Regions from separate parts of the Homo sapiens genome. Here all the other regions are linked to region 6. Evidence: promoter capture Hi-C in 16 types of primary human blood cells and fetal thymus (Javierre and others, 2016). All regions are on one chromosome and are shown on one strand. The core of a region is centred on a gene start or on the middle of the fragment in contact, and the rest is flanking DNA. Distances in the headings are between cores, read along the strand shown. Region 1 overlaps DOP1A (DOP1 leucine zipper like protein A). Region 2 overlaps RWDD2A (RWD domain containing 2A). Region 3 overlaps DOP1A (DOP1 leucine zipper like protein A). Region 4 overlaps DOP1A (DOP1 leucine zipper like protein A). Region 5 overlaps UBE3D (ubiquitin protein ligase E3D). Region 6 holds the start of SNHG5 (small nucleolar RNA host gene 5). Region 7 overlaps DOP1A (DOP1 leucine zipper like protein A).

Evidence for each region. The method cuts DNA at HindIII sites, captures the fragments that hold promoters and counts their contacts. A CHiCAGO score of 5 or more calls a contact.
Region 1: a contact is called between a fragment that was not itself captured here and the fragment with the promoter of SNHG5 in region 6, in 2 of 17 cell types (neutrophils and activated CD4 T cells). The highest score is 5.1, in neutrophils.
Region 2: a fragment that was not itself captured here is called in contact with the fragment with the promoter of SNHG5 in region 6 in 4 of 17 cell types (non-activated CD4 T cells, total CD8 T cells, naive B cells and 1 more); the score reaches 10.9 in non-activated CD4 T cells.
Region 3: a contact is called between a fragment that was not itself captured here and the fragment with the promoter of SNHG5 in region 6, in 1 of 17 cell types (neutrophils). The highest score is 5.6, in neutrophils.
Region 4: a contact is called between a fragment that was not itself captured here and the fragment with the promoter of SNHG5 in region 6, in 4 of 17 cell types (neutrophils, naive B cells, total CD4 T cells and 1 more). The highest score is 9.8, in neutrophils.
Region 5: a fragment that was not itself captured here is called in contact with the fragment with the promoter of SNHG5 in region 6 in 1 of 17 cell types (naive CD8 T cells); the score reaches 5.5 in naive CD8 T cells.
Region 7: a contact is called between a fragment that was not itself captured here and the fragment with the promoter of SNHG5 in region 6, in 3 of 17 cell types (naive CD8 T cells, total CD4 T cells and naive B cells). The highest score is 9.3, in naive CD8 T cells.

Annotation. Positions count from the first base shown.
Region 1 is chr6:83,121,572-83,124,341 of GRCh38, reverse strand. It overlaps DOP1A (DOP1 leucine zipper like protein A), which reads right to left. Exons shown (of 39, transcript NM_015018.4): 11 at 2,292-2,412; 12 at 1,360-1,479. Among named protein-coding and RNA genes, the nearest start is that of DOP1A, 55 kb to the right of the region's middle. The HindIII fragment of the contact is 3,912 bases long and covers 1-2,770 here.
Region 2 is chr6:83,194,826-83,198,015 of GRCh38, reverse strand. RWDD2A (RWD domain containing 2A) reads right to left here. Exons shown (of 3, transcript NM_033411.5): 3 at 1-2,421. The coding sequence ends at 1,744. Among named protein-coding and RNA genes, the nearest start is that of RWDD2A, 3.1 kb to the right of the region's middle. The HindIII fragment of the contact is 1,829 bases long and covers 379-2,207 here.
Region 3 is chr6:83,147,141-83,150,321 of GRCh38, reverse strand. DOP1A (DOP1 leucine zipper like protein A) reads right to left here. Exons shown (of 39, transcript NM_015018.4): 26 at 3,031-3,086; 27 at 1,459-1,563. It also overlaps a transcript of PGM3 not described here. Among named protein-coding and RNA genes, the nearest start is that of PGM3, 45 kb to the left of the region's middle. The HindIII fragment of the contact is 7,536 bases long and covers 1-3,181 here.
Region 4 is chr6:83,075,333-83,078,350 of GRCh38, reverse strand. The region is part of intron 1 of DOP1A (DOP1 leucine zipper like protein A); the gene reads right to left. Among named protein-coding and RNA genes, the nearest start is that of DOP1A, 9.2 kb to the right of the region's middle. The HindIII fragment of the contact is 2,053 bases long and covers 390-2,442 here.
Region 5 is chr6:83,055,953-83,059,091 of GRCh38, reverse strand. It overlaps UBE3D (ubiquitin protein ligase E3D), which reads left to right. Exons shown (of 10, transcript NM_198920.3): 2 at 1,070-1,266. Among named protein-coding and RNA genes, the nearest start is that of UBE3D, 8.3 kb to the left of the region's middle. The HindIII fragment of the contact is 7,857 bases long and covers 1-3,139 here.
Region 6 is chr6:85,677,139-85,680,014 of GRCh38, reverse strand. It overlaps SNHG5 (small nucleolar RNA host gene 5), which reads left to right and starts at 1,282. Exons shown (of 6, transcript NR_003038.2): 1 at 1,282-1,321; 2 at 1,827-1,879; 3 at 1,983-2,061; 4 at 2,140-2,220; 5 at 2,523-2,591; 6 at 2,824-2,876. It overlaps SNORD50B (small nucleolar RNA, C/D box 50B), which reads left to right and starts at 2,356; the gene lies at 2,356-2,426. It overlaps SNORD50A (small nucleolar RNA, C/D box 50A), which reads left to right and starts at 2,647; the gene lies at 2,647-2,721. RefSeq lists enhancers at 1,312-1,471, 1,642-1,701. The HindIII fragment of the contact is 13,479 bases long and covers 1-1,439 here.
Region 7 is chr6:83,165,659-83,168,768 of GRCh38, reverse strand. It overlaps DOP1A (DOP1 leucine zipper like protein A), which reads right to left. Exons shown (of 39, transcript NM_015018.4): 39 at 298-907. The coding sequence ends at 602. PGM3 (phosphoglucomutase 3) reads left to right here. Exons shown (of 13, transcript NM_015599.3): 13 at 1-3,110. Among named protein-coding and RNA genes, the nearest start is that of PGM3, 26 kb to the left of the region's middle. The HindIII fragment of the contact is 894 bases long and covers 1,150-2,043 here.

The sequences.
Region 1 (2,770 bases), core at 104-2,603, 2.6 Mb after region 6:
CTGTACTACTGTCCTCCCCAATCTCATTTTCCCATGATCAGAATGCATCTGTCCTTCAAAGTCTGAGATCAAATGTTACCTCCTCCAGGAAGCCTCTTCTGATCCAAGTAGTAGAGATCATTCCTCCAACAAACATTCACATTAAATCATAGAAATCCTATATGACCATACATTGCCCTCCACTCTGAAGACACAAAGTAAGAATATAATATAGTCCCTGACCAACAAGAATATAAGCATGTAGACAAATAAAAGCAACAATGTGACAGTGTGGAGGCATTGATTCTGATAGGCTATTTGAGGAAAGGAAGGAAAGGTGGGTAACCTCTACATAGGATTTTAGCAGATAGGCAAGGGGAAAGAGTATTTCAGAAGGAATAGCACAAGTGAAGCCTCAGCAGAATGAAAGTTAAAATGCTGCTAACTTTCAGAGAATAGTCCAGGTTGGCTGAAGAAGTGTGGATGTGTGCATTTGTGAATGTAGAAGGTAAAAACCCAGGGTAGGGCCAGGCGGCAAAAAAATACGATTCCTACATTTTAATCTATTAAGACATTTGTAATTTTTAATACTAGGAATATACGCGTGCATGTCTTATTTGTTCCCACTATAAGATCTTTGAAGACAGGGACTGTCTATCTGCCTAGCATGATGCTTTTTAACTGGGTGCTCAACCTCTGCTGAATAAGCTAGGAACTTTCTAAACCACTAAAGAGATTAATGTGTAGGAGCAACAATTAACATTTTTTATTAAAAGACTTCTAATGCTGAAATCGTACATAATTACATTTTGACTACATGCTCCTGGGCCTTGAGTGGTTAATCTGGTTGAGAGGATCTGGTCTAGAAGCCAGACAGAGATTCCACTCAGATTCACTAGTATCCTAGGGTTTTCAGACCATATTTTTTGCTTTATTTGCTAAGGGGTAGAAGGCTTTTATCACTTCCCAGTGACAGCATGGATTAGTTCTAATGGCTTTAAAAACACAAGTCAGGCCAAAAAGTTTTTTGTTAATCAAAGTGGAAATCCTTTTGGAAAAGTGTGCTGAGGCAGCAGCCAAAAATTTGCTATCTTTTCTACAACAAAAAAACTGGATTACTATAGACTGAAGACGGAAAATTTTTAATCTACTCTGGTGTATGAATAACTGATCTCTAAACTCCCTTCCAATTCTAAGATTATATGATCAATGATTTTATATCCTATGTGACAAGGTAGAGTCAGATTATGGATAGTAAGTAACAGTTATTATTAGTAATAGAATGTATAAAAGAACATTCATTAAATGTAACAACTTAAAAAAAACCCAAAGGTTAGCTTTAGATGTTACGAAATTAAAAGGAATGAAAGTTTAACATACCTACAACATTCTTCAAACCAGCGTGCAACATAATCCCACATATAATAAGGTTCGAAGGAATTAAAGAGAAGGTTAGCAGTTTTAATCAGCTCTGCTGTTTTCTTATTTTCTCTTAATTTACTGAAAAAAGAGAAAAGAAAACAAAAACTAAAAAATATTAACATTTGTTTTTTCAAATTTAAATTTGAGTGCAGTGCCAGTACATATTCCTAGGTAGTTGCTAGAAAATGTGCTAGTAAGAAGATTGCAACAAATAATTTTTATCTACTGCCACTCTCCTATCATTTTATGGGCAGTTATTTTTTCAAATTTGAATTTTTGTCAAACATCAAGATCAGAAATGAGACTTGCACAGTTTCTGCATAATAAAAAAGACAAAAGAACAAGAATTTCTTTTTGAACTATTTAGTGTGTGGGACTGTAAATTTGGCAAAATTCTTTTATTTCCCTTGGCACATACAAACTGAGTAGTGATTTGATTTTCACAGCCTTGATTGTGAAGAATTTTGTCTGCTTCCCTGTGCTATTCAGGATTTTCTTAAGAAAGGTTTACCTTGACCAGTTTCAATCAAATTATTATTCTTAGTTTGAAAAACAACAACAACAAAACCAACTAGTGCTGTTAATAGCCACTATTACTGAAATTGCATCAGGGAAAAAGAACTTTGTTATTTCAAGTGGCAACCCTTTAGCCTATTACCTATTTCCTCCTCCTGTCTTTTGTAACAATTAAAACAATTGTCTTTATATAGTGAGGCACTGTCAATACAACTAGTATGTCAGTATTAAATCAGCTTTACTAGTATTAAATCAGCTTTACTTATTAGAACACAAACTTCATAGAGTAGGATCCCAAGTTATTACACTTCAAGTTTATATTAAGTGAATACATATTATGTCTTCATGTCACATTTAATTTTTTGATAATCCACCTGCTTAACTGAGCATGATCCTTGCTGAAGGGTGGTTCAGTTTGAAGATCCAACTCTGCTTTGCATTGAGAATATAATGTTCTAAACACTTCAATCAGGACATCTTCTAGAATTACAGGTCCTAAAATTAATATTCAAATTAAAGACAGTAATTAATCAGCATGAGCAAATCATGCTTATCTGAAAATTGGCCCAATGAAACAATGTTTTAAAAACAAGTATTTTTAAAATAGTATTTCTTCAGAAGCTAAGCTAAATTCACACTTCTTTGAGAAGGTAATATAAGATATTACATAACTGAACAAATATTTAAAGTGCAGGTTGACACAATAGAAATTACAGAATCAGAGAAATTGGTTTTGCCAGTTAATAGTTCTGTTACATTAGACAAGTTATTTAACTTCTTTGAGCTTTAGTTTCCTCATCCAGAATGAGGATAATACCAAAATTTACAGGACTGTTAAGGGTTAGAAAAAATA
Region 2 (3,190 bases), core at 44-2,543, 2.5 Mb after region 6:
TATAGGCAAAGTGTCAGGCTCCAGCCTGAGTTCCAGCACAACCAAGGCTAGGATGGAAACATGAATGGCAAGCTGGAGGACCTGGCGGGGCAGGCCTACAGCGAGCCATGGGTTGAAGATCTGAGTTGTGCCCTGAGAGGACACTCATTGTGACCTAAGAAGAAAGAGGCAGTACAAAGTGGACCCAGTTCTAACACCTCCTTGGGATAGGGCCTCCTGCTCCATCATGTCCTCTCTGTAGCCCAAGGACACGTCTGCATCCACGGCACAGAGGGTAAAACCAGATGGTAGTTTCATCAGAAGTTCTGTAGGCTCCCCAGCACAAGCAGCACTGTCTGACATCTAACAGGATGTGTTCCTAAATCCCAGCACCAAGCTTTGGCATCTTGAGAGGACCCAGTAGGAGAATGGAATGCCTCCCGGGAAAGGGCAGCAGTAGCTGACCACAGAAACACGGAAAGCTGCAGAGGCTGCTCAAGACATCTCTTAGCACATGAGACTCGCAGAAATACTTGGGGAGGGATGGAGACCTGGTAATGAAAAGGCTTGGCAAGAGCTACTTAAATAGCGGTTTTTAATCATTAAAATAAACTCTCATTTTGAAAAGCCTGGTGAAGCCTGTGGAGCTTGGAATTTTCAGAGGAGATGGCAGTAACATCATCGGACTGTAGAATTAGATTTTTTTTTTCCCAATAAGGTAATGATGCAGATATCCACACTGGTCCCCTCAACAGTCTCTTGCCCTTTATAGTAATGCATACTGGCACACAGGCAAAGGTTGGATTGAAACAGGCGAATACTTTGTAGACAAGGAACCATGTGTTTATCTTTTCTGGATAAGAATTAAACTAATACTGGTATCAGGATTGCTAGTATCATGAACTGATATAAACAGCCAGAACACATAGCATTGTGTGTCATCTTTTAACTCGTGGGACTTCATGTCTATGAGTCCTTTGCCACTGCTATTAGGATCTAGTTTTACTAAAACACTCGAAATAGGAGTTTAAAGTAAGAAATGAAGTAAACGGGCTGGGCGCGGTGGCTCACACCTGTAATCCCAGCACTTTGGAAGGCCGAGGCAGGCAGATCACGAGGTTAAGAGATTGAGACCATCCTAGCCAACATGATGAAACCCTGTCTCTACTAAAAATATAACAATTAGCTGGGCGTGGTGGCGCACGCCTGTAGTCCCAGCTACTTGGGAGGCTGAGGCAGGAGAATCGCTTGAACCTGGGAAGCTGAGGATGCAGTGAGCCGAGATCGCACCGTCTCAAAAAAGGAAGTAAACATGTCCTTCCTGTTCTCATTTTAAACTTGATTTAGATTTCCAATAATGAAAGACAAGTGGGTGTGTCACATGTGTGCTAGCAATGTGAAACAAATGCTATTCATATTTCTCAATTCATAATTGCAGTTTGATTTTTGATGTTAGTTATGGGCTTTGGATTCCTCTTCAATCAAATCAGCTTCACAAGTTAAATGGATTGTTTTTATTAATTTACAATGAAATAGTTTTTGAATGACTTCACACAAAAACCTAGAGATAACATCACAATTGCAATGTTATAAAGTTTAAAGGCCTATTCATTTCACTGTCAGTTGAAATTCGTTACCAGGTGAAAATTCTGGAGCTGGGTTTTGCACTGAGGATGCTACACAGCCACTAGCCTTTTTAATTTGGTCTTATTAACAGAAATACTGACTTAGTGAAATTACAGGCATAGGCCTCTTAATCGCTTTTTATGAGTCTGAACTTTTGCTTTCAATACCAAATAGTATCTGAAAAACATGCTCACTTTTGTGCTTCTTGAGAAATTCTAAGAATTGGCCCAGATTCATGTGATAGTCATTCCTTAATCCATAGTCACCATGAGCCTCAAGGAGTAACTCTTCAAAAGAATGGAAAAGGCGCAGGTCCTCACCATTTCCTTCTGTCTCCACGCTTTCAGCATGCTTACAGGAAATGTGCTTCCAATTGGGGTACCTAATTGTGTGCCAGAACTCCTCACAGTGCTCTTTGAAACCCTCCACACAGATTATACCAGGCTTTCCTGTCATGCAAAATCCAGTCACATCTAACCTTTTCCCAACATCCAAAATCTTTTTCCTTAGGTCCTGCTGATATATATGGTGACTGTAGATCCACATTCGGAGGAATGTGTTCTTGACTGGCTTTGCTTGTGTAGATGGTTCATATACAAGCTTTCTGTTCAGGAAATAAGATGCACTGTTGTCCTGTAGCCACTGGATTGCTGCACATACACAGAGCTCACCTGGATCAAAAGTCCCTATGTAAGAAGTGAGACCTTTGTTGAGAAGTAGCTGCTGATGTCTGTCAAGTTCAGATGACCGTCCAAACAGCTGCAATGCTACATAGGGGTAGCTGTGAGGCATGGTCACTTGCAAATCAATTTTCACCTTAAAATGAAAATCAAATAGATTTAAATACCATAACATCACATAAGCTAGTTTATCAATAGCAACTGCATGATTTTGAGAAATGTTATTGCTACTATTAAATGTACCAGGTACTTTACATACATGATTGCTTCCTTTTATGCATTATTTCAATATTTATTGAACAACTACGTGTGCCAGGTGCCCTTGTGCTGGGATAAAAAAGTGAATAAACCAGACACTATTTTTGCCCTTCATGAAGTCCAGGGCCTAGTGAAGGAGACACACATTAAACAAATAATTACATATAGCAAGTATTTAATTTCAATTGTGAAAAGCATTACCATGGAAAAGTGGAGGGTTCCATTGAAGTGTGTAACCAGCGGGACAGAATCCAGTCTGGAGAACCAGAAAGTCTCCTCTGAGGGAATAACAACTGAAGGATGAGTAGGAAATAGCTACAACAGTGGTTCTCAAATGCCCAGTCCACGTATTACCTATGCTATGCTAATGTTGCTGGAGATAAATGGATCAGAAGATGGAGGTAAATTCATTTTTAGTCTTTAGATTTTTCCATCCATATTTGCTTTCTGTGTTATGGTGCCATCAAAAAATCCACTCATTCACTCCTTAAAAGACAGTTATGTTACAGGAGATATTTAGATTTATGAAAATCATGATACATGTGAAAGGTAGTCCAACTGGATGGGTGAACAAAATAATAATGGCATAAGACTGCAAGATAGCGTCAATAAAAACTCCAGGTATATTTGTTAAAAAGGTGTATATG
Region 3 (3,181 bases), core at 463-2,962, 2.5 Mb after region 6:
TGATGATTCCAACACCTGTACATACATTCCCTCTCTGAACCTTATGACAACTCCTGTGTAGCTGGGACTACAGGCACGTGTGACTATGCCTGGCTAATTTTTAAATTTTTTGTAGAGACACAGTCTCCCTATGTTGCCTAGGCTGGTCTCAAACTCTGGGCTCAAGCAGTCCTCTTGCTTCAGCATCCCAAAGTGCTGGGATTGCAGGCATGAGCCACCGCATGTGGCTTCTTTCTTTTCATGATCAAATATCCTCAAAGAAGAATCAACACTTACTTTCCCACACTAAGCATTTGCTGTTAACACATCTGTGCTGCTACCTCTCCAAACCCTCTCTCCAAAATCATCAGATAACTGGTGATTGGACAATTAGGATGCCTGTCCAGATTGTCAACAAACATAGCCTTTTATTATTCCTCACCTTCCTTAACCTCTCTGTAGGTGTTAACCATGCTCTCTTAACCTCCCTTTGGTTCTGGACAATCAAATGCCTGGTTTTCTTCTTTTTGATACTTCCCTTTCTATCTCCTTTGCTGGCCCCTTCTCCTTCTTTATCCTGTTCTTTCAATCCCATCAATAGTTGAAACCATCCCCACACTTCCCACTTGAAATAGAATTCCTAGTCTAGCCTCTTTCCCCTCTGATCTAGCCTACTACTACTAACATGCCAGTCATGTCTCTCCTCAAAAACCTGCAACCGCTCCCACTCCCTTTCAAGACCACATTCTTTAAAATAAAATTCAAGATCCTGCCCCATCTAGCTCCCATCTCCCTTTTCATTCAGTCTTATTTTCCACTATACCACTGCCTGTGCCCTGCTCTATTACCAAATCAGACAAGGTACTTTGCCCCAGAATACCCTTCCCCTTCCTGTTTCACAAAGGCTTTCTGTGCCCACCACCTCTATTCACTTACCAAGTATTTACTGGGGACCTATTAGGAATCAAGAATAATGGCAAGCAAGAAAGAGAGACTGACTATGACATCCCAGTACTTGCAGTCATAGGTGACTAACATTTATCAAATAATCATATAAATCACTAAGATAAATCAGAAAACTTCAAGACACAAAGAGAAAAATTTTCCCAGGCTGTTTAGGTTTGGGGCCCAGCTCAAGTGTCCCTCCTCTGTGAAGTTCCCCTTCAGCCATGCTACATCACCCCCTCCCCTTTCCATTCCATACTCTCCACCACCACGGAAACAGCTACTGTTGTAACAGTTTTATGTTAGTGTAGTTACATTTTGTATATGTATAAACATAGACTGTTTCCTCCTCTCACCCTGCCTCCCACTTTTTTTTTTCTTAAACAGGCCTTATACATCTAGTTTTGCATCTCAAGAACACTATGAGAAGGTAGAGAGATCACTGTCACCTAAAATATCTATTACTAATACTTGGCAACTAGGACAATTAACATTATCCTTTTATTTGAAATAATATTAAGTGAAATTGCTTACCCAAGTATAAGAAACTGCCCTGGAGCTGGAAGACTCAGTTGTATAGAGTCTTTCAGAAGTATCAACAGTGACGCCCAGCTATCCACTAAATTGGGCACTGGAATTCTGCAAGATAATATAGTTTATACAAAAGCCACAATAAACTATGGTTTTCTACTAGTTTGTGGAACATTCTCTAAATTTTTATAGACAATGATAGAACAAAATTCCTAAAAACTTTACATTTTTACTAACGTTAATTAGTAAACCAACACAGTTGAAATATCAATGCAATTTCTTTCTTTTTTTTAAAACAGAGATGGAATTTCACCATGTTGCCCAGGCTGGTCTCAAACTTCTGGGATCAAGCGATCCACCTGCTTTGGCCTCCCAAAGTGTTGGGATTATGGGCATGAGCCACTGCATCTGGCCCCAGTGCAATTTCTTTTTTCTTTTTTTGTCTTTTTTTTTGAGATGGAGTCTCACTCTGTTGCCCAGGCTGGAGCACAGTAGCGCGATCTCGGCTCACCGCAGCCTCCACCTCCCCGGTTCAAGCAATTCTCTCCTGCCTCAGCCTCCTGAGTAGCTGGGACTACAGGCGTGCGCTGCCATGCCCAGCTAATTTTTGTATTTTTAGTAGAGACAGGGTTTCACCATGTTGGCCAGTATGGTCTTGATCTCCTGAGTTCGTGATCCGCCCGCCTCGGCCTCCCAAAGTGCTGAGATTACAGGCGAGAGTCACCGCCCCTAGCCTGCAATTTCTTAATCTAGAAATTTTTCTATTGAAATCCCATTTATCACATGGGATCTCAAAAGTAAAATACAACTGCAGTAATTCTCAGTTTAACTACTGATACCACAGTCATGTACTCCCTAGCCTGGTCTCTCCATTTCCCTCTTAGTTCTTTTTCCTTCACCTTGTACGTCTCTACCTCATATTATGGAGGGCTGTCAACTGAACATTAGTCTTTAACCTGTAAAAATAATGAAGACTATCTTTGTTTCAGTCTGACCTTAACCCTAACACCTCTCTGTATATAAGTTCAGATTTTAGGCAGTGCTTGCTCTAGGTCACAACCAGTTTAAATACACTCAATAGCCTGACCTTATAATGCTAGTCATAGATTACAAATGGAGGCTGAGTTTGGTGAATAAAATGGAATTATCTTATAAAGGAGGATGAAGAGTCAGGTTCTTGAGTAAGAAGTTATAAAAACTCAAATCATAACTTCTGTTCACAGGTCAGTTAAACGCAAAATGGAATATGATAGTAAGAAGATATTTCATGTAATCATTCCTAACATTAAAAAAGCAGAATGAATTACTGTATGTTCACCTATACCAAAATAATGGATTCAGTGGCAATATGCATAGTTTCGAGAGTAGGTTCAACTTTTCATTTATGTTTAAATGATTTTATCACAATTCAGTGTTTTACTATCTAGGAATCTTCAATATCCTTAGGTCTTTAGGTTTGTAGGATATACATGGCTGGGTCGTTAAGACACTCATTACTTATATTAATATATCCATAAATAATGTTTCTCTGTTTCTAGCAACATAGTAAGGACAGATCAATATCAGTAATCTTACCTTTGAATATAAGCATAGAAAAACTGAAGCATGCAGACTTCCAAAGAAAGATGTTTCTATAAATAAAAGAAATCAATTTTGTAGTGAAGAAGAATACTGCCTTTGCTTTTTCATTGTTGCAACTACTCTGTATCTTACTGCCAATTTTTAA
Region 4 (3,018 bases), core at 167-2,666, 2.6 Mb after region 6:
TTTGATAATCCCTGGAAAGCTCTTTAGCTCAGTGTTAACTTAGCGTATAAGAAGTGCTCTTATTACTGCTATAATTGTGATATTCATTTTCTTAGACATGAAATGCAAGCTGTTAGCCATATAAAGCCTTCATAAAATAGACCCATTCCTTCAATCTTATTCACACTTCTGTCCCAGCTAAGCAAAACCTAGGCAATTGTCCACTGTTCAAGACTTGCTCCCTCCCATCTCAGTGCCTTTACACATGCTATTAATTTTGTGGATAGAATTTAATTTTCTATTAAATTATACTCAAACTCAAAATGCTATGTCTCTGCATGATACCTAGTGATTCAACCCCTTTGACCTAATTTTTAAATCAGTATCTTTTTCAATATTCAGAATAAGCTTGTCCAACCCACAGCCCAGAACAGTTTTGAATGTGGCCCAAGAAATTCGTAAACTTTCTTAAAACATTAAGAGATTTATGCATGGACCTTTTTAGCTTATCAGCTATAGTTAAGTGTTAGTGTATTTTATGTGTGGCCTGAGACAATTCTTCTTCCAATGTGGCCCAGGGAGGCCAAAAGTTTGGACACCCCTGATTTAGAAACATGGCTTACATGACAGTATAAAATGTAAAAAATGTACATATGCTTCATGTTTCTAGAAGTTTAAAGTCCTTTTTATTTTTTTGAGACAAGGTCTCATTCTATCACCCAGTCTGGAATGCAGTGGCACAATCATGGCTCACTGACGTCTCTAACTCCTGGGCTCAAGCAATCCTCTTGCCTTAGCCTCCTGAGTAGCCAGGATTACAGGTGGGTGCCAACATGCCTAGCTAATTAAAAAAAAAAAATTTTTTTTTGTAGACAGGGTCTTACTTTCTTGCCCAGGTTGGTCTTGAACTTGTGGCCTCAAACGATCCTCCTGCCCTGGCCTCCCAAAGTGCTGGGATTACAGGTATGAGCCACTGTGCCCAGCCTATAGTCCTTTTTAAATTGTTTTTAAAGCATATAACATTTACCATCTTTTTTTTAAGGGGTCTTGCTATGTTGCCCAGGCTGGTTTTGAACAACTGGGCTCAAGCAATCCTCTGGCCTTGGCCTTCCAAAGTGTTGGGATTACAGGAATGAGCCACTGAGCCTGGCCAAAATTTACCATCTTAACCACTGAGTGTACAGTTCAGTAGTGTTAAGTACATTCACATTATTGTGCAACCAATCTCCAGAACTTTTCATCTTGCAAACTGCAACTCTATACCCATTAAACAACAATTCTATTTTCTGCTTTTATGAATTTGACTACTTTAGATACCTCATGTAAGGGGAACCATATTGTATGGGTCTTTTTATTATAACTGGCTTATTTCACTCAGCATAATGTCCTCAAGATTCATCCATGTTATAGCATGTGTCAGAATTTCCTTTTTTAAGGCTTAGTAATATTTCATTCTATGTAGATACTGTATTTTGCTTATCCATTAATCCATAGATGCACACATAGGTTGTTTCTACCTCTTGATTATCACGAGTAGTGCTGCTATCAACATGGGTGTGCAAATTCCTCTTCCAGATCCTGCTTTCAACTCTTTTGGATATATCCAAAAGCGGGATTGCTGCATTTAGAGAGTAATTTTTTAAACTTTTTTTGAGGAATGGCCATACTGTGTTCCACAGGGGCTGAACCATTTTACATCTCTACCAACAGTGCCCAAGAAGTTTCTAATTTCCCTACATCCTTGCCAAAACTATTTTTTTTTTAATAGTAGCCATCATAATGGGTGTAAGGTTAGGTATCTCTTTGTGGTTTTGATTTGTATTTATCTAATGATTAGTGATCTTCAACATTTTTTTTTCTTTTGAGATGGAGTCTGCTCTGCCTCCAGGCGGGAGTGCAGTGGTGCGATCTTGGCTCAACCTCCCAGGTCCAAGCGATTCCCTTGCCTCAGCCTCCTGAATAGCTGGGACTACAGGTGTGCACCACCACGCCCAGCTAATTTTTTGTATTTTAGTAGAGACCGGGTTTCACCATGTTGGCCAGGATGGTCTCAATCTCCTGACCTCATCATCCACCCACCTCGGCCTCCCAAAGTGCTGGGATTACAGGCCTGAGCCACCACACCCGGCCTCAATATCTTTTCATATGTTTGCTGGCCATTTATATATCATCTTTGGAAAAATGTCTATTTAAGTCCTTGGCCCATTTTAAAATTCAGTTACTTTGTTGTTATTGAACTGTAAGAGTAGCTCTTTCTTTATATATTCTGGGTATTAGCCTCTTATCAAACACATGATTTATGAATATTTTCTCCCTTTCCATAGTTTGCTTTTTCACTCTCTTGTACTCTCTGATGCACAGAAAGTTTTAAGATTAATACAATCCTATTTTTTATTTTTGCTTTTATTGTCTGTGCTTTTGCTGTCATATCCAAGAAACTGCCAAACTCAATGTCATAAAGCTTTTCTCCTATGTTTTCTTCTAGGAGCTTTATAGTTTTAGGTCTTATCTTTAGGTCTTTAATCCATTTTGTGTTAATCTTTGTGTATGGTATAAGATATACAACTTCATTTTTTCACATAGGGATATCAGTTTTTCCCAACACTATCTGGTGAAGAGGCTATCCTTTCCTGACTGAGTCGTCTTGGCACCCTTGTCAAACACTGTTGGACCGTATAAACTAGTGTTTATTTCGGGGCTCTCCATTCAATTTCATTGATCTATATGTCTGTTTTGGCCAGTACCATACTATTTTGATTACTATAGCTTTGCAATAATTTTTAAATGCATTTTTTGAGAGCCACCCTTTTATTCCTTCTGTTTCAAACACTAAATCCTAACTTGACCTGACAAGTACCTACTTATCCTTCAGGTCTCAGATTTTATCCCTTTTGGGAAGTCTTCCAGGACCATTCCACCATTCCCCTAACACTCACATATACACCTCCTTCCTGTGAACTCCCATGACATGCTATACTTCCTCTATCATAGAACTTACCTTGCTTTATTGTAATTGAACTGTGACTCCAGGGGTGGTAA
Region 5 (3,139 bases), core at 134-2,633, 2.6 Mb after region 6:
ATTTTTTAAGGGTTGTTTTTTAAAAAATAAAAAGTATAATATGTATTCTACTTTGAGACCATACATGGCTCATAAAGCCTAAAATATTTACTATCTGGTCTTTCACAGAAATAAAGTTGCTGACTCTTGTTTTAGAGGATCATTATTTCTTAAACACCATTTCTTGAAATTGAACTTTTGACTCAGGTTTGAAACTGTCATCCCTGCAAAAAACTCAGATGCTTAATATTCTGTATTGCTAACTAAGTGCAGATCCATATGCTTTGAAAAGGAACTAGCCAGAAAGTAGCTATAAGATTTTCTAAGGCAGATTTCTAAGGCCTAACCAAGATCCACACCTGAGCACATGGTCTACCCTCTGTACTCAGATGACACTCAAGCAAATGGCTTGCTGTCTGCACTTAGTTGACACCATGTGGATGACCTGCTGTCTGCACTTAAGAGGGAGCCATGGTACTTTGTACCTCTGTTGCATTGCTAAGCGTATTGCAGTTTCAGAGGAGGGTCATTTCCATAGATGCCTTTATCCCCTCTATACTTTTGATGCCTGGGGGCTTTTGACAGGGACTGTGTTTTACTCTTTATTGCCTATACTGAGTAATTTGTGTTTGCTCTGAATTGGATTAGTAAGTCCTTTCACACCTGATATTCATACATCACTGTATCGTTTTCTTCATTAATTCTTTTTATTCTTAAAATTGACAGGTTTTTGTCTTGTATCATTGTTTCACTGAATCTTGGTCTCTTTATTAAAATCTTGTATATGAAATAACAGTACTTTGCTCTGATTTACTATAAAACATTATTTTAGTGCTCTTCTCAGAAGGAAGAACCAAAAATCTGTCCCAGGACTTGCATATTATGGTGATGGTGAAGGGCACTCTGATCAGATCTAAATCTAGTGTAGGTTGCTTTCCTTTATGATCTGCTTGCTGCTGTTTTTCTGGGGCAGTGACTTTAGAGCTCCTATTGAAGAGGAAGAAAGAGATCCTTGGCCATTTTTGTTTCTTTCATCATGTGGTTTTCATTGTGAGAAATAATTTGTTTGGGTTTTGTTTTTAATTACCAGAGAACCGAAAGAAGGAGGTATGCCCATGAATATTTCCATAATGCCATCTTCACTCCAGATGAAAACCCCTGAAGGCTGCACAGAAATCCAGCTTCCAGCAGAGGTCAGGCTTGTACCTTCCTCTTGCCGTGGGCTACAGTTTGTTGTTGGAGATGGACTGCACCTGCGACTGCAGACGCAAGCAAAATTAGGCACAAGTGAGTAATATTAGCACTTCTGCTGCTGTATTTACCTTTTTGTTATAAACCAAAGGTGATTTTTCCTTTGATAAGTTGAACTTTTCCCAGGTGAAGGGGTTGAGAAGCTCTAGGGTCTTTGTCAGCTCTGCCAGTTATTGGCTGTATGCAATTGAACATGTTACTTAACCTTTCTGAGGCTTCTTCCCTCCCTCCCTTCCTTCTTTCTTTTCCACCCACAGCAAAATTGAGCAGAAAGTATAGAGATTTCCCATTTACCCACTGCCTTGTTTCTTTAATTGTAAAATTTTCTGGCTCACAGATGGGAAGATTAAATCAGATGGCAGTTGTATAAGACCTGATTGATTTTAAAGCATTACATGGAAATTTATTCATTCAACAAATATTTTGGTTTGTGCTATGTGCTAGGCATCAATCTAGGTTCTGGGGATACAGAGTGAACAAGGTAGGGGAGGTGTCTGCTCTCATGGAGCTTACATTCTAATTGGTGGGAGCAGATAATGAGCAAACAATTTAAATATTAAGAAAAGTGTTATGATAATATAAAACAGAATAATGGGATAGGGAGTGACTAGGGTTGGCTGAAGGATGATCAGTGAAGGCCACTCTGAGGAGGTAATGTTTGACCTGAGTCCTGAATAAGGAAATCCTATCCATGTGGGGACTGTTCCAAATAGAGAAAACAGTACACAAAAGGTCCTACAGTTGAGTTTGATACTTAATTTGATTTTAACTTTTACTATGCCTGTTATATTTACAACATTTTGTAACTGGTATAATGATTCGGTAAGGCAGTGGAAAATTTGCTTTTTCTAAGACCTCAGGGTTATTTATTGTATAAAATTATTGGTTCATTACATCTATTACAATGTACGTAATATATGCTTTGGGGGATTAAAATTATGTCAAAGGGGGAAATAGGCTGTAAAAGACTTATGTGATGTTTATTATCAGAGAAAGATTGTAATTCTTTCAGCTGCACACTGACACTTCGCTGCTGCCTCATCTGTAATAAACCTTTCATCTGCGCTGTGTGGATCCTGGAGATGGGGTCAGGAGGAGTGTTTGGAAGAGCCATTTAGGAGATGTTGAGTATTCCCCTGAGTCTGTGCTCTTGGCTTTTGTGAGGAAAGAGAAGATAGAGAGGGTTTCATTTCTTTTTTACTGGAGAGCAATTTTTGCTCAAGTCCTGGGTTAGTGAATAACTAGTTTGAGTTGGGCAGGGTTAGTTTTAGGAACAAAGGGTAGGGAAAAGAGATGTCATGGCACTTAAATGTTGTAGGATAAATACTAGGAATGACTGTTGGAATAACCATAGCAAGAAGGTTAGGGTCACCGAGCTGGGAAGTAGACTCCCTGATTGCACCTAATAATGGGCAGAGAAAGTGTTGTTTCAGGGAAGAGGCCATGGGAGGCTGGATGTTGTGTTGTCATCACCTTCTCCTTCACAACAGTTACCTCTTTCACAAGAGTAACCACAGCAGGAATTTTGTGTTGGGTTCTGAGATTTGGGAAAGGCAAGCATGAAAGCCACAGTGGAGTGTTTTCTGGGATTGTGATTTTAGAGATGGAGGAATAGAGACCACCAGGGACATAGTATTGGGTTTTTGCCCATCCATATTCTGTATTCTGTAACTGAATATACAAATATCAAAACTGGAATTATTTTTAAAAATTTAAATCTGCAAACATTGTTTAAACTATAGGACAAAATAAATTGACTGCTATGTGCTGATTTGCATATTGTTTGTGTTCACTGGTCTCCTATTTCTTTACACTTTTAATATATTTTGCTCAAATATCTGAAAAGGAAAATTATCAAAGTCCTGTTCCATAGTGCATGAAAGAGTATGCAAAACAGATTCCTCAGCAC
Region 6 (2,876 bases), core at 33-2,532:
CTGTTAGAGAAAAGTGCTTTTCACTACTATCTTTGAATGTGAAGTTTGATCTTCATTCTAATTTTCTAAAAAGCCACCGAATGTATTTGTTCATTCATTCATTCATTTAACCATTACCGACAACCTACTTAATGCTAGGCACTGTTCTAAGAAAAAATAAACAGCAGAGCACGAAATCAGATGTGTTGCTCCCACACTCTAGCAGAATCGGACCGTAATCAAATGCACACATAAACAACTTTAATAAGTAGTGCTTTGAAATATAGAAGTGAAGAACGACCTGAATTTTCAAATACTGAAATGTTCAAATGTCGTGTGCACACACACACACGCAGACATATTCACTCGAACATGCTAATTAATCAAAGCACTGCTTTTGAATTTTGTGTTTGTCGTCTGGATAAAGTATTCAGGGATACTTCTCAAATTAATCTTTCTCTCGTTTTCAATATAACTAATTGAGTACAAAGAAGTTAAAAATTAGCAAAGCATTTCAGCTGTGTGACCTTAGGCAAATTACCTGGCTGTTTTAAGCCTCAGTTTTCTCCTCTGCGAAATGGAGTATTGAACCTCACGTTCGCTGTTTGAGGGAGACTTGTATGGTCACGTTTAGTGTAACCGGATGCCTGGCACGAGGAAGCGTGAGGAGGAATGGATCCCCATGGGGCCTTGATGCCCGCCCTGAGGCCCTGCAGGGCCGCACGCCGGGGCTGTTCTCACGTGGCGCTTTCCGCTTTTTCACCCAAGCGTTTCTGCCAGCCAACTGCCCTTTCCCGGAGTGCTGCGGCCAGGGCTCGCCCGCTCCTCCGGCGGCCTCCGCTGGGGGCCCACTACAGCCCAGCGCCAGCCAGCCAGCCAGCCCAGCTTCTCGAATCGGTCCTAAGCTGAGGCCGCCCTGCGCTGCAAAACTTGTGTCCACTCTCGGACCCAATCTGTCCTGGACGGACTTGGCTCGTGGCAGGCGAAAGCGTCGTTTCCAACTGCAGCTGTTTGAATTCTGGCGCCACACCCGCGCCACGTAGGGCCAAGTCGGCCGCCAGACTCGTAAGAGACGCTTCGCAGTGCGCCTGCGGGCGCGCGCCGGGAAATGGCCGGGCGCGCGGCCGGCCTGCGGCGCGCTCCACAACGCGGAACGGGCCTCAGAAGAGCCACCGCGCGCGCTCCCGCTAATTCGCGACCACACCCCTGTCTACTTCCATGTCCAATAGGTGCGAGAGGGCGGGACGGCCTCGTTCTGACTCCGGGAGGCTATATAAGGAGCTACTGGCTGCGCACTTCGGTCTTTTACGTCGGCCTTCGCGAGCGTCTGGGCGGGTGGTAGGTGAGTGGGTATTGCGGGCTAGTATCCGAGCAAAAGATGGTGGCGCAGGCCGAGTTAAGAGCTTTAATCCTGTGAAGACATCTTAGTGAAGAGTTTAGAGTGCTGAGAGTTGAAAGCTTGCACGTGGGAAACGTGCGGCCGGACTGCCACATGTACTGAGGTTGAGTCGTGACGGCCACAGGCTCCGAGTTTTGGCGTGAGGAACCGCTGATCGGCCACGGGCGCCGAACTTGCTGGCCTCCGGCATGTGCCTGAGCGGCGGCGGAAAAACCACCTTAATTGGGGCGGAGGGTTAGTTTTAACAGCAAAGGGCCTTTACTAAAATGGCGAAGGCCTTCCGTCGGCGTTGTTTTAAAATGGGAAGCCTCGACCCTGTATTGAAACTGAGCTGTTCGAAGGCGGCGTTGTGTGCAATTCGGATTAATGAAGGGGAAGGGTTTTGTGTGGAAAAACGCCTTGGAGTGTGACATTTCTGCGAGAATGCTTAAATACCGATTTCCCGCAGGAACAATGGCGCTGTCTTCAGTGGCACAGTGGAGCAGCTCTGAAGATGCAAAGGTAAGAGCTTAGTTAAGCTTAGTTTCCAAACTAAAGGAGTAAACCTGTTGATTTACAGGAATAGGAACTGTTGCATCGTTTGAAATTTACTTTTTTTTGTTAGATACACGAAAAAACTTCCAGAACATCTGGGAGAATATTTAATGGAAAATCGCTTGGTTAAAACCTGACACTTTTAACAGGTATGTGTTGTTTTAGTACTTTATGATTGAGCATAGCATTTAATCCACACCTAGACTAAATCAAATTTTTTTTGTCAGTGAACAGCGTTCTGAGTGTGGACGAGTAGCCAGTGAAGATAATGAATGTCGAATGTGACTGACTAGCAGCTTCATTTTGAAGTAGGTTGTATGGCTTAAAAGTTCTGTAGTATTTGTACTATAATACTTGCCTTTTAGCATTACCTTGGTTTGTAGTCAGTGTCACAGAAGTGCAGTTTAATGTATTATGTGTACATATACAAGGTCTGATTGGTCTAATCAATGATGAAACCTATCCCGAAGCTGATAACCTGAAGAAAAATAAGTACGGATTCGGCTTCTGAGATTAAGACCAGTAATTCAGAGGTGGAGTAAATTTTGTTGCCGTGATTTTATAACAGTTGTGTTATAAAATCCTGGGTTTTTTTTTTTTCTGCCAACAGTGAGGGTCGCTGTCTGCCCATTGATAGAGGCCAGATTGTCTTGGAAGTTCCAAAGTTGCAACGATTTCTGTAAGTGGAGTTTTTCTGTTTGCTTAGAGATCAGTGAATATTGTGTCCTTGGTCTTATCTGTGATGATCTTATCCCGAACCTGAACTTCTGTTGAAAAAAAAAAACTTTTACGGATCTGGCTTCTGAGATGGACCGTTATAAGGACAATATTTTTTTTTAATACTTTTAATGCTTTTACATATGTTGTAATGTTTGTAGTCTTGTAAGAATCTCGTGTTTTTCCTTTTCTAGGGCTAGTGCCACGAGGTTTACTTGACTGTTGTGTGAAAAGCTGATAAGAAAAC
Region 7 (3,110 bases), core at 347-2,846, 2.5 Mb after region 6:
TAGATGACTTACCTATATGACTAATGCCATCAGGAACTCAGAGGTATGAATAGGGGGTTGTCCATCCCTCTTCCATACTGAGGTGGAGATGCTCATGCAATACTTTTAAGGATGCATGGTCCAGCCTTCAGTTATTCTTCACTGCTCTTGGTGAAGGTATGTGGGAGAAAAACTAATTATAATACGTTTCCCAGCCTCTGATGGAGAAGGAACACCATTCTGATACCAGAACATGGTTAATAAGGAAAAGAGAAAAATCCCCAACCAATCTTAATTGAACCAAGTCTGAAACCAATGGAAAAAAAAAATGGGTAGTGTATATTTTGCAGGTTTAAGACAACTCAGGACAATAAAAACAATGGACTTTACATGTGTATATATATAGCTCTCTTAGGCACCATAATCAGTATGAGCCAACAATATTTAAACTTGATTCAGGCCACATTCAGACATTTGCTCTTATATACAAATATTTAAATTAAATACAATCTGAAATGTGTTCTGTTACATACAAAAAAGGAAAAACTATACAACGCAGAGCAGTGTGTGTGTTTTAAATAATTACATTTACATGTAAGCTAAATGGAACCAGCAATGGTGCTCAAGTTTTTATCATCCCTTCCAGAAAATCTTTTTCTACCATCTCTTCTATTTTTTGCCTGGCTTTGCTGGAACATGGTTTGTGGTTCTCCAGTTTCATGTCCTTATTAGGGAAGGCATTTGAGTAGAGGATAGGACTCCCTGAGTGTCCTCCACATCGGCTTGTGACTTTGCTGTTGAAGACTTGACTGAGCACATTGAAGAACGGCAGGAGCTGCTCCATACTGCGCACGGTGCAGATGGTGAGCAGCAAGTGCCCTGGCTCCCAACCCAATGTTCTCCCTGAGTTGTCTTCCTCTGGATTTTTCTGCAGAAAACAAAAAGTGAACTGGTATTAATACAACAGACAATGTGGTATGTTAGAAAAATTAAAAATATATAAACTTTGGCAATTGGTCAAGAAATGAATACAAATGACATTAAGTTTCTAACTCCTGACCTGATCAAAACCCTTGGTGCTTCTGAGACCTTTTACTGCCATTTATTAGTTTTACATGGAGCAGTCTAACATTGTAGTAATAGTTCCCAACTAGAATGCGCAGATAAGCTTAGTTAACAGAAATAGCTTTGAACAGGAATAGAGTCAAACATAAAAGTTTTATGTTGTGCTTTGTATTTACTCAAAAAGCTCCCAGGTTTCTGAACCCTCACTACTGTAACCAAGGACTAGGTCACAAAATTACTACAGAAAAAAGGAACAAAGTGCTTTATACATTTCATAATATATCCCCTTTTATTATAATTAGTTAATTCCCTTTTATCTAAATGGCCTAAATTTGCCATGATGGTAGCAGTGTCCAAAGTGAATAATTACTGTCAGTACTGCATCACAGAGAAAGGAAGGGATCCCTCAGGAGACACTGCTGTCTCCTTCTGGGTTGTGCTAAACAACATAGGGAGGAAAGCTGGACCTGGAGTCAAAGGAATTGAGTTAGTGTGCTGGCTCTGCCATACTTACGGCACCCTTGGGCAGGATATACAAAGGTTCCTCACTTATAAAATGGGACAGTCTAAAACTACCTTTTAGTAGAGAAGTCAAATGAGAAGGTATGTGAAAACTCTGTCAACTAAATATAAAGACTAATAATTTGGGTATTAAGAGGCTAGTTTGAGAAGCCACCTGAATTACACAAACACAGCTACAGACATCATTCTGTCTAGAGAAAGATAAGAGAGAACAGGTTGGTTGAACTTGGGCAGAATCACAGATACAATTCCACACTAAAGAATGAAAATAAGCAATGAACTAGACAGAAGGAAGAAATCATGAAGACTTAGGAAGCAGAATTACAATCTGTCATATTAACAAATGGAGTTTGCCTTCTAAGATCAGATGTTGCTCAGAAACTTTCATTGTTTACCTAATAATTTAATATCACTAGTTTCCTAGTGGGTCAAGCAGATGCAAAATCCAGCTTATTTTCTTCTATGTGCTCTCAAGCTTATTGCTTATTTTAAAGTAAAATCCTGAAAAAGGAAAATATTAGGTTGGTGCAAACGTAATTGCGGTTTTTGCATTGTTGAAATTTGCCGTTTTATATTGGAGTACATTCTTAAATAAATGTGGTTATGTTATACATCATTTTAAGCATATTTCTCACTTTTTTTTTGCTAATGACTTATTGCTGTTTATATTTATTTTAGACTATGGAAATGATGTTAGACAAAAATCAAATTTAGCGATTTTCTGAGTTCAAAATAGGTTATAAAGCAGCAGAGACAACACACAACATCAACAATGCATTTGGCCCAGGAACTGCTAATGAACATACAGTGCCGTGATGGCTCAAGAAGTTTTGCAAAGGAGACTAGAGCCTTGAAGATGAGGAGTGCAGTGGCCAGTCATCGGAAATTGATAATGACCAATTGAGAACATCATCGAAGCTGATCCTCTTACAACTATAAGAGAGCTGCCCAAGAACTCAATGTTGACCATTTTATGGTCGTTCGGCATTTGAAGCAAATTGAAAAGGTGAAAAAGCTCAATAAATGGGTGCCTCATGAGCTGAGTGAAAAATAAAAAAATTCGTTGTTTTGAAGTGTCATTTTCTCTATTCTATGCAACAATAATGAATCATTTCTCTATCGGATTGTGATGTGTGCCAAAAGGTGGATTTTATACGACAACTGGCGATGACCAGCTCAGTGGCTGGACTGAAAGAAGCTCCAAAGCACTTCCCAAAGCCAAACTTGCTCCAAAAAATGGTCATGGTCATTGTTTGGTGGTTTGCTGCCAGTCTGATCCACTACAGCTTTCTGAATCCAGGTGAAACCATTACATCTGATAAGTATGCTCAGCAAATCAATGAGATGCACCAAAAACTGCAATGCCTGCAGCCGGCATTGGCCACCAGAAAGGGCCCAATTCTTTTCACGACAACACTGGGCCGCACGTTGCACAACCAACGCTTCGAAAATTGAACTAATTGGGCTATGAAGTTTTGCCTCATCTGCCATATTCACCTGACCTCTTGCCAACAAACTACCACTTCTTTAGGCATCTCAGCAAC